Regions from separate parts of the Homo sapiens genome. Here all the other regions are linked to region 3. The links are contacts of gene promoters, found by promoter capture Hi-C in human tissues and cell types (Jung and others, 2019). All regions are on one chromosome and are shown on one strand. The core of a region is centred on a gene start or on the middle of the fragment in contact, and the rest is flanking DNA. Distances in the headings are between cores, read along the strand shown.

Region 1 (2,700 bases), core at 88-2,587, 1.3 Mb before region 3:
ATTGTTCAGAAGTCACTGAAATATTTGAGTTGTCAGAACTATGTGTTTTCTGGGTGCTTCATTTCTTATCCAATTCTCCTAATTCCACTGTAGAAGCTTTTTTCAAGAAGTAAAAAAAAAAAAAAAAAAAAAAAAAAAAAAAAAAAAAAAAAAAAAAAAAGGCAGTGCTTTGCTTTCTTGATATATTTCAGATTGGGAATCAAGATGGGAAAACAAGGAATTATCAACAAAGAAGGATATTTATGATGAAGATTCACCCCAACCAGTAACAATGGAAAAAGTTGTAAAACAAAGTTATGAATTTTCAAATTCTAATAAGAATTTGGAATATACAGAATGCGACACATTTAGAAGCACCTTTCATTCAAAGTCTACTCTTTCTGAACCACAAAACAATTCTGCTGAAGGGAATTCACACAAATATGATATATTAAAGAAGAATTTATCAAAAAAGTCAGTTATAAAAAGTGAGAGAATAAATGGTGGAAAGAAACTTTTAAATTCTAATAAAAGTGGGGCAGCCTTCAACCAGAGCAAATCTCTTACCCTTCCCCAGACTTGTAATAGAGAGAAAATCTATACATGCAGTGAATGTGGGAAAGCCTTTGGCAAACAGTCAATCCTCAGTCGCCACTGGAGAATTCATACAGGAGAGAAGCCCTATGAATGTCGTGAATGTGGGAAGACTTTTAGCCATGGTTCATCCCTTACACGACATCAGATAAGCCATAGTGGAGAGAAACCTTACAAATGCATTGAATGTGGGAAGGCCTTTAGCCATGGCTCATCACTTACTAACCATCAGAGCACTCACACGGGAGAGAAACCGTATGAATGTATGAACTGTGGAAAGTCTTTTAGTCGTGTGTCCCTTCTCATTCAGCATCTAAGAATTCATACGCAAGAAAAACGCTATGAGTGTCGTATATGTGGAAAGGCCTTCATTCATAGTTCGTCTCTCATTCACCATCAGAAAAGCCATACTGGAGAGAAGCCTTATGAATGTAGAGAATGTGGGAAAGCTTTCTGCTGTAGCTCACACCTTACTCAACATCAAAGAATTCACAGTATGAAGAAAAAATATGAATGCAACAAATGTCTCAAGGTCTTTAGTAGCTTCTCATTTCTTGTTCAACATCAGAGTATTCATACTGAAGAAAAACCGTTTGAAGTTTAGAAATGCAGGAAATCCTTCAACCAGCTTGAATCACTGAATATGCATTTGAGAAATCACATTAGATTGAAACCCTACGAATGCAGTATATGTGGGAAAGCCTTTAGTCATAGGTCGTCCCTGCTTCAACATCACAGTATTCATACTGGAGAGAAACCTTACGAATGTATTAAATGTGGGAAGACCTTCAGCTGTAGTTCAAACCTTACTGTACATCAGAGAATTCATACTGGAGAAAAGCCATATAAATGTAGTGAGTGTGGGAAAGCTTTTAGCAAAGGCTCGAATCTTACTGCCCATCAAAGAGTACATAATGGAGAGAAACCCAATAGTGTGGTAAGTGTGGAAAAGCCTTTAGATCATATGAATCCCTATACATGTGAGAAATCTTACAGAAGAGAAGCAGTGTTTATCACGGTAAACTTCATTCATAGATCCTCCCTTATTTAACATCAGAAAAATGTATACTGGGGAAAAGTTGTATGAAGGTGGTGAACATGGGAGACTTTTAGCAATGATGCAGATTTTTTTATTAGAGTTTATACTGTAGAGAAATCATATGAAGTCAATAAATGTGGGAAAGCCTTTGTCAGTATTAATCCCTTAATTGACCTAAGTATACTCACACTAGGAAAAATCTGTGTACATGTAGCAAATGTGGGAAAGACTATAGGCAATAGGAATCTCCTGCAAACTCCTACAGGAGAAAAGTTGTATGAATGTGGAAACTTTAGAAATTGAAGGAATTTTTCAGTTCCAAGTGCATCCCTTATTCTATAGGAAATAAACTGGAGACAAATCTCATTTAAGAGATGCAGCAAAGTGTTCACTAAGAGTGTTTATCTTGCCAGACATAAGAAGATGAATGGTAGAGCAACCTGAAGGATTTAGAAATTACATATAAATCTTTGCAGTTATGCTATTTGTAAACAGGATTATATAGGAGAGCAAATAAACATAAGTATGCATTTCTTAGAGCAGTAGCTTGCAGTTTCAGTTGAGTTCTACTTAGAAATTCTTTTTAGCTAGTGGGCATGTGAAGATATTTAGTCACCCAGAGGAGCCAGTAAATGTTATAATGTTAAAAATTAAAGCTGCAAAAGAAATAAAATGGTGTTAATAAAAATTTGGCATCTAATAAAATCATTTTGTATATCATGAACTCTTTCTCTGTGACTGTTTGCGACAAAAAAAAATTTCACTAAGATTAGCCTTAGTATAGCCTTTAGCGGGAGACTAGCAAACTTCGAGAAGAATGGCCTGCTCTTTATACTAAGAATAGCAGTATTTTGGTGAGGATTATTGAGTCCATATCCAGTAGGCTTAATTAAATACATTTCAAGAACATTTACTGAGCATTACTCATGTGTATTACACAGGGATGGGATAAAGGAATCTAGTAGTTCTGAGCTCTAGTGCTGTGTCGAAATCACTGGAAGGACGTGTTAAAGCACAGATTGCTAAGCCTCAGTCCTAGAGTTTCTGTATGAGTTGATTTGAATTTGCATTTTTCACACGTTCTTAGG
Region 2 (2,700 bases), core at 175-2,674, 1.0 Mb before region 3:
GTAGGCTGGATGGGGGGTGTGAGCCAGGGGGAGATGAGGAGCTGAAGTCAGAGAGCTGACAGGGGCCTTGGGTGCCAAGGTGAGGACTTTGCTTTTACCTGGAGTGAGGTACAGCTGGGGCAGGGCTCTGAGCCAGGAGGGTAGTTAACTGACTCAGGTGGTCCCAGGCTCTCTCTGGCTGCAGGTGAGAACAGACAGTAGGGGCAGGGATGGGAGCAGGGAGATCAGGCAGGAGAGGATGGAGGCTGGGCCAGGGCGTGGGCAGCGGAGGAAGAAGAGTTTAGAATGGAGCGATTGATTTTATACGTGGAGCCCACAGTTTGTGACGGATTGGATGTGGTGTGAAGGAAAAGAGAGGGTCAGAAAAGACTCTGAAGTTCTGGGCCTGCCATTCATCAAAATGGAGAAGTCAGGTGGGCTTCTTTTGCAGGAGGAGGGGAAGGGTTGATGGAGAGGGTTGGGAAGGGAGTTTTTTCAAAAGAGGCGGGGACAGCGTACCCTGGAGAGCGCTGGGGAGCCACAGCCCCGGAGCTGTGAGGTGGGACTCGCATTTCTGTGTGGTTGGGCCAGGAGTCCAGGACACCACCTGACTCTGACCTCTTGCAGACGGGGCGGGGGAGGGGGGACGCAGGTTATGGCGTCAGAGCAGGATCGAATCCAACTCTGCCGCCTACCTACCAGGTGACCCCAACAAGTCACTTCCCATCTTAGAGGCCGGGCTTCTCCTTCCGTAAAAGGACTGATTTTGCCCGTTCCTGCGCTGTCCCCGGGAAAAGCCCTTACCACCGAGTTAGTGGGACTCCCAGCACTGGGGTGATGAGCGCAAGGTCTCAGCACAGATAAGAGCCAGGGAGGCTGGATTCTGACTTGGTACTTGGCCTGGCTGACCAAAACTGGGAAGTCCCTAGAAACGGAGGCACCGGACCTCCTGGGACCAGGAACCCGGGCTCAGAGACTGGGAGAGGGAAGGAGGAGGCGGCCAACCGGCCCCACCCCTTCCCGCCAGCTTCAGGCCCCCTCCCCCATACATACACCTCGGTTTCCCAGCATCTCCAGTCCTCCCCCACCTTCGCCCCGGCTCTCAGGTTCCTCCCTGGGAGGTCCAGGAGCTTCTGGCCAGGGGCATAGTAGTTGCTAGGGACCCTTTTCTAGGTACTAGGGGAGGGGGCTCCCCAACCTGCGGGCAGGCAGCTGCCTCCACGATGTTTGGTTTTAATAAAGTCTCTTTGTTTCCTTCTCTGTCTCTCTGCCCCTCTGCTTTCCCTTCTCTGTCCAGTCCCTCTCTCCCCGGCTTCTCCCTCCTTCTAGGCCTCTGCGGCCCCTCCCCGCCTTCCCTCCCGGGCTGGGGGCGGCGCCGTGACGCGGCGGGGCGGGGGAAGGAAGGGGGTGTCGCTGACGCCGCGGCGGCCTCCGGCGGCTCCGGCCTTTTGTGCGGGCGGTTGGGTCGGGTGGGGGCGGCGGCCGCGGAAGGCCAGGCCGGTGCCCTGCGGGGACGCCCAGCGCAGCCCAGCCCCGCGCAGCCCAGCCCTGCCCTGCCCTGCCCTGCCCTGCGCCCGGGGCGCGCCCACCGCGCCGCATCCATGTTCGAGTAAGGACCGGGCGACTAGAGCTCAGGGACCGGGCGCGCGGGGGAGGCCACCGGAGGGAGGGGGCGCCGCGGGCTTGGGGAGGGGGCGGAGCGGCCGCTGCAGAGGTCGGGGGCCTCTGCACATGGCTCTGGCCGGGGCGATCGGGGTGGGGGCGGGGCAGGGGGCCCCCGGGCGAGGGGTGCAGCTGGGGAGTGGGGCGCGGACGCAGGGCAGGGCCCGGGGTCTGGGTCGCCACTGCCGGCCCGCGACGCACTGGGTTGCGGGGTTTGGCTGGGGGCCCGCGGGTTCATCTGGCGGGGAGGGCCCTCAGGCCTGGCAACCCCCTGCCTGGTAAGCCAGGGGTGAGCGCGAGGCCGAACTGGGGCTCCGGCCTGGGATGGAGACAGGATCGGGACCAGCCCAGGCCCACAGGCCGCGGAGCCCTGGGCGCGCCGGGAGTAGGCAGCCCCCTCCTGCCTGGGCCCCCTCCCACCGTCCTTGGCTGTTGCGGGTCTCGGGGCTGCCGGGGGTGGGGGCTTCCTGCGTCTCTCCAGGACCGCGTGCTTGAGGTCATGGAGGGCGGGGGGTCCTGTGTGCTCGGAATTGACTTCTTACTCCCCTTCCGGTCCAGGTGGGCGCATGTGCTTCCGACTGTGAATTGTCTTGCAAGTGTGTGTACGTGTGTCTGGGGCTGCTAGCCTGCAGCAGCTTTGGGCCTCTGATAGAGTTCCTGCGTGTAACTTAACCACTAATTCTGACCGCGGCTCTGTGTGTCACTGTAAGTTACCTGTGTGTGTCTGGGGCTCCAAATCTGTGGCTGTGAGCAGCTGGTTGTGTGCGTGTTGTGTCTCATTCCATCTGTAGCTCCCTGTGCAAATATAAATTACCCCTGTGTGTCTGAGTGTGACGTTGGAGTGTTTGTACATGTGTCTGGAGTTACCGTGTGTAGCAGCTCTGATCCTTCTTGGGCTGTGTGTGTTTTACCATTAATTCTATCTGTAGCTCCAAGCGTTGCTGTAAGTTACCAGTGTGCGTCCCATTGTGACTTAGTGGTGTGTGTACAAGTGTGCCTGGGGCTCTGGGTTCTACCATGACCCTCTGTGCCTGCATATGCCTGTAATTTAGCTCTGAA
Region 3 (2,700 bases), core at 62-2,561:
TGTGTGAGGCCTGGGGGGTCTGGACAGGGAGCGGGGCTGGGTACCCCCCAAGAAGAATGGGGCTACACCAGGAGCAATGATGAAATGCTTCTCAGCCGGGCGCAGTGGTTCACATCTGTAATCCCAGCACTTTGGGAGGCCGAGGCCCGAGGATCACTTGAGCCCAGGAGTTCAAGACCAGCCTGGGCAACATGGTGAGACATCATCTCTACTTTTTTTTTTTTAATAAAAAAGAAATATGGCTGGACACGGTGACGCACGCCTGTAATCCCAGCACTTCGGGAGGCTGAGGTGGGTGGATCACCTGAGGTCGGGAGTTCGAGACTAGCCTGGCCAACAAGTCGAAAACCCATCTCTACTAAAAATACAAAAAATTAGCCAGGTATGGTGGCATGTGCCTGTAATCCCAGCTACTCGGGTGGCTGAGGCAGGAGAATCACTGGGACCTGGGAGGCGGAGGTTGCAGTGAGCAGAGATCTCACCACTGCATTCCAGCCTAGGTGACAGAGAGACTCCATCTCAAAAAAAAAAAGAAAGAAAGAAATACGTCTCCCCAGTTGGTCAGATATTGAAACACTTTTCCAGAAGGTCCCTCCCCCTACAGACACCCAACACCTTTCCAGAATCATCACCCGGTCCTCAGTATGGAGGCCAGACTCCAGGGGACAGAGAGGAGGTGGGGCTGGCACAAGGGGTCTGGGTCACCTCAGCTCACCTCACAGTGTTTGCCCCCAGCTGGGTCCTCGTAGGAAGAGGGTGTTGACCATCTCGGGGGGTGAGCGGCAGGCTCATTGCCCCTTGGCCCACCCTGGAAGTGCTCAGGAGGGCCCAAGGAGTCCTGTCCCAGGGTCTGGGCCTGCTCTGGGCTAGGAGGCAGGGGGCGGTGACTGGGTGAGTCTCGACACCTCACTTTTCAGCCTACCGTCACCCCAACCCTGGTGGCCTCTCCTATGTCCCCAGGCGATCACAGCCATGGCACCTCCTACCCTCACATGGCCCCTGCCACCACGCCTACCCTTTTGGGAACAAGCTTCCAAAGCCCCGGCCCCCACCTCGTGCTCTCCTCTCCGGACGCGGGGCAGACGGTGCATCCAACAATGTCCGCCTCTCTAGGTGCTCCCGGTGGGTGGTTGAGGGGCTCTGAGCCAAGTCTAGGGCCCAGAGGCAGGGACAGGGCCATGGCTGGGGGCCTGGGGACACAAAGTCAGGTGAGGGCAGCCAGTAAGACCTCTTCCCTAGACAAGGGTGTCCCAGAGCTCCTCCGCTGGAGTCACCCGGGCCTGAGGCTGCAGGAGAGGCCCAGGACAGGTCTGGCTCCGCCCCTTCCAAGAGGAACCTGGACCCGGCCATTTGATGCCCAGCTCAGGTGACAGAAGAGTCACTTAACTCCTTCCTCCCTAGCAGGCCAGTAGCTAAATCTCCCAGCATCACTCCACGCCATCCAAGAGGGTTCCAGATAGAACCCCTGCGCCACCTCCTCAAGAGCCCTGGATTCTGCCCCACTGGGAACCCAGAAATCGGACCTCCAGGGCCTACCCCATTCATTTAAGACCCTAGATGCCGCTCCCCTCAGGAAACCAAGCATCTGGCCCCTAAAAAATAAAAATATAAAACCAAGGAAAGATTTTTTTGTTTATTTGGTATGGGGTCTTCTGTAGCTCACACAAAATTATTGGGAAAATAAATAACCCAGGGGAGCCCCCTTTGCCCACGGTTCCTAGGTCGCGGAGTCACAGCAGCCCCAAAGGGGCAGGAACCTGGGAATCCGAGGGGTCCCGGCCCTGGCGGTCACTTGCCCAGCAGGAGGCCGGCGCGCAGCACGCGGGGCACGCGGCGGATGGTCAGCGAGACCCGGGTGCCGCGCACCAGGCAGGCTCCCGGCCGCGCCGACGGGCAGGCTGCCGCATTGGGCGGCGAGGAGGCGGCGTCCAGCGCGTCTACGCGGGCGGCGGCGATGCCGTGGAGAAGACGCGTGTAGGCGGGGCCGCGGAGCACCAGCAGGCTGCGCGGTTCCAGCAGTAGCGAGGTGGTGGGCCGGGGCGGAGGCCGAGGCTGCAGGGCGGGTTGAGGGTCAGCAGGGCTCAAGAAGTCGGGGGGTGGGGGTGGGCGAGAGGTCGGTAGCCTCCGGGGATCAGCTAGTCCCCAGGGGCAAAAGCTGAAGAGCAAGTGTGCTCACAATGATGGAGGCTTTGGTGGTTCAGGAGTGAAAATTGCTGGGGCCTGGGCTGGGGCTGCTGGAAAGGGAGGGCGAGGGCTCTGCCGTCCCTCGGGAGGGGGCAGGATCTAGGTGGCAGATGGGGGCGTCAAAGGGTCAGCGGCCGGTGGGAGCTGCAGCTGGGATCTCAAAGGGGCTGAGGCTGGGGCTGGGACCCAGGAATAGGCAGTCCCCAGGAAATACAGGCAGAGCTGGGCTGAGAGAGCATGGCTGAAGCCAGGACCAGGTGAGGAGAGAGTGAGGCAGAGGTTAGAGGCAGTGGGGGTTCCCAAGGACATCAGGACATTAGAGGACAACCGCACAGCTGAGGGAGTGTCAGAGCATCCAGGAGCATGCAGGGCTCGAGGGCAAGCCTCAAGGAGTGGGTCGGCGTGTTCAGGGGCGTTTCTGTGAACACTGGGGTGCTAGAAATGCATCACTCAGAGAAATTGTGTCAAGGGGTCAAGGAGAATCTGGGGGTGTCCTGCACCCCAAATCACATTCCT

What was found. The method cuts DNA at HindIII sites, captures the fragments that hold promoters and counts their contacts. A contact is called where the count stands out against the background at its distance.
Region 1: a fragment that was not itself captured here is called in contact with the fragment with the promoter of SYNE4 in region 3 in 1 of the 25 tissues and cell types used here (dorsolateral prefrontal cortex).
Region 2: the fragment with the promoter of GRAMD1A here is called in contact with the fragment with the promoter of SYNE4 in region 3 in 1 of the 25 tissues and cell types used here (spleen).

Annotation. Positions count from the first base shown.
Region 1 is chr19:34,684,061-34,686,760 of GRCh38, forward strand. ZNF302 (zinc finger protein 302) reads left to right here. Exons shown (of 5, transcript NM_001289187.2): 5 at 192-2,336. The coding sequence ends at 1,177. Among named protein-coding and RNA genes, the nearest start is that of ZNF302, 7.7 kb to the left of the region's middle. The HindIII fragment of the contact is 3,944 bases long and covers 1-2,700 here.
Region 2 is chr19:34,998,899-35,001,598 of GRCh38, forward strand. GRAMD1A (GRAM domain containing 1A) reads left to right here and starts at 1,425. Exons shown (of 20, transcript NM_020895.5): 1 at 1,425-1,588. The coding sequence starts at 1,581. RefSeq lists silencers at 1,260-1,639, 1,910-2,039. The HindIII fragment of the contact is 31,318 bases long and covers 1-2,700 here.
Region 3 is chr19:36,007,502-36,010,201 of GRCh38, forward strand. It overlaps SYNE4 (spectrin repeat containing nuclear envelope family member 4), which reads right to left and starts at 1,312. Exons shown (of 8, transcript NM_001039876.3): 1 at 1,053-1,312; 2 at 716-866. The coding sequence starts at 1,180. ALKBH6 (alkB homolog 6) reads right to left here. Exons shown (of 7, transcript NM_032878.5): 7 at 1,619-2,052. The coding sequence ends at 1,789. RefSeq lists enhancers at 484-1,025, 1,026-1,565. The HindIII fragment of the contact is 19,934 bases long and covers 441-2,700 here.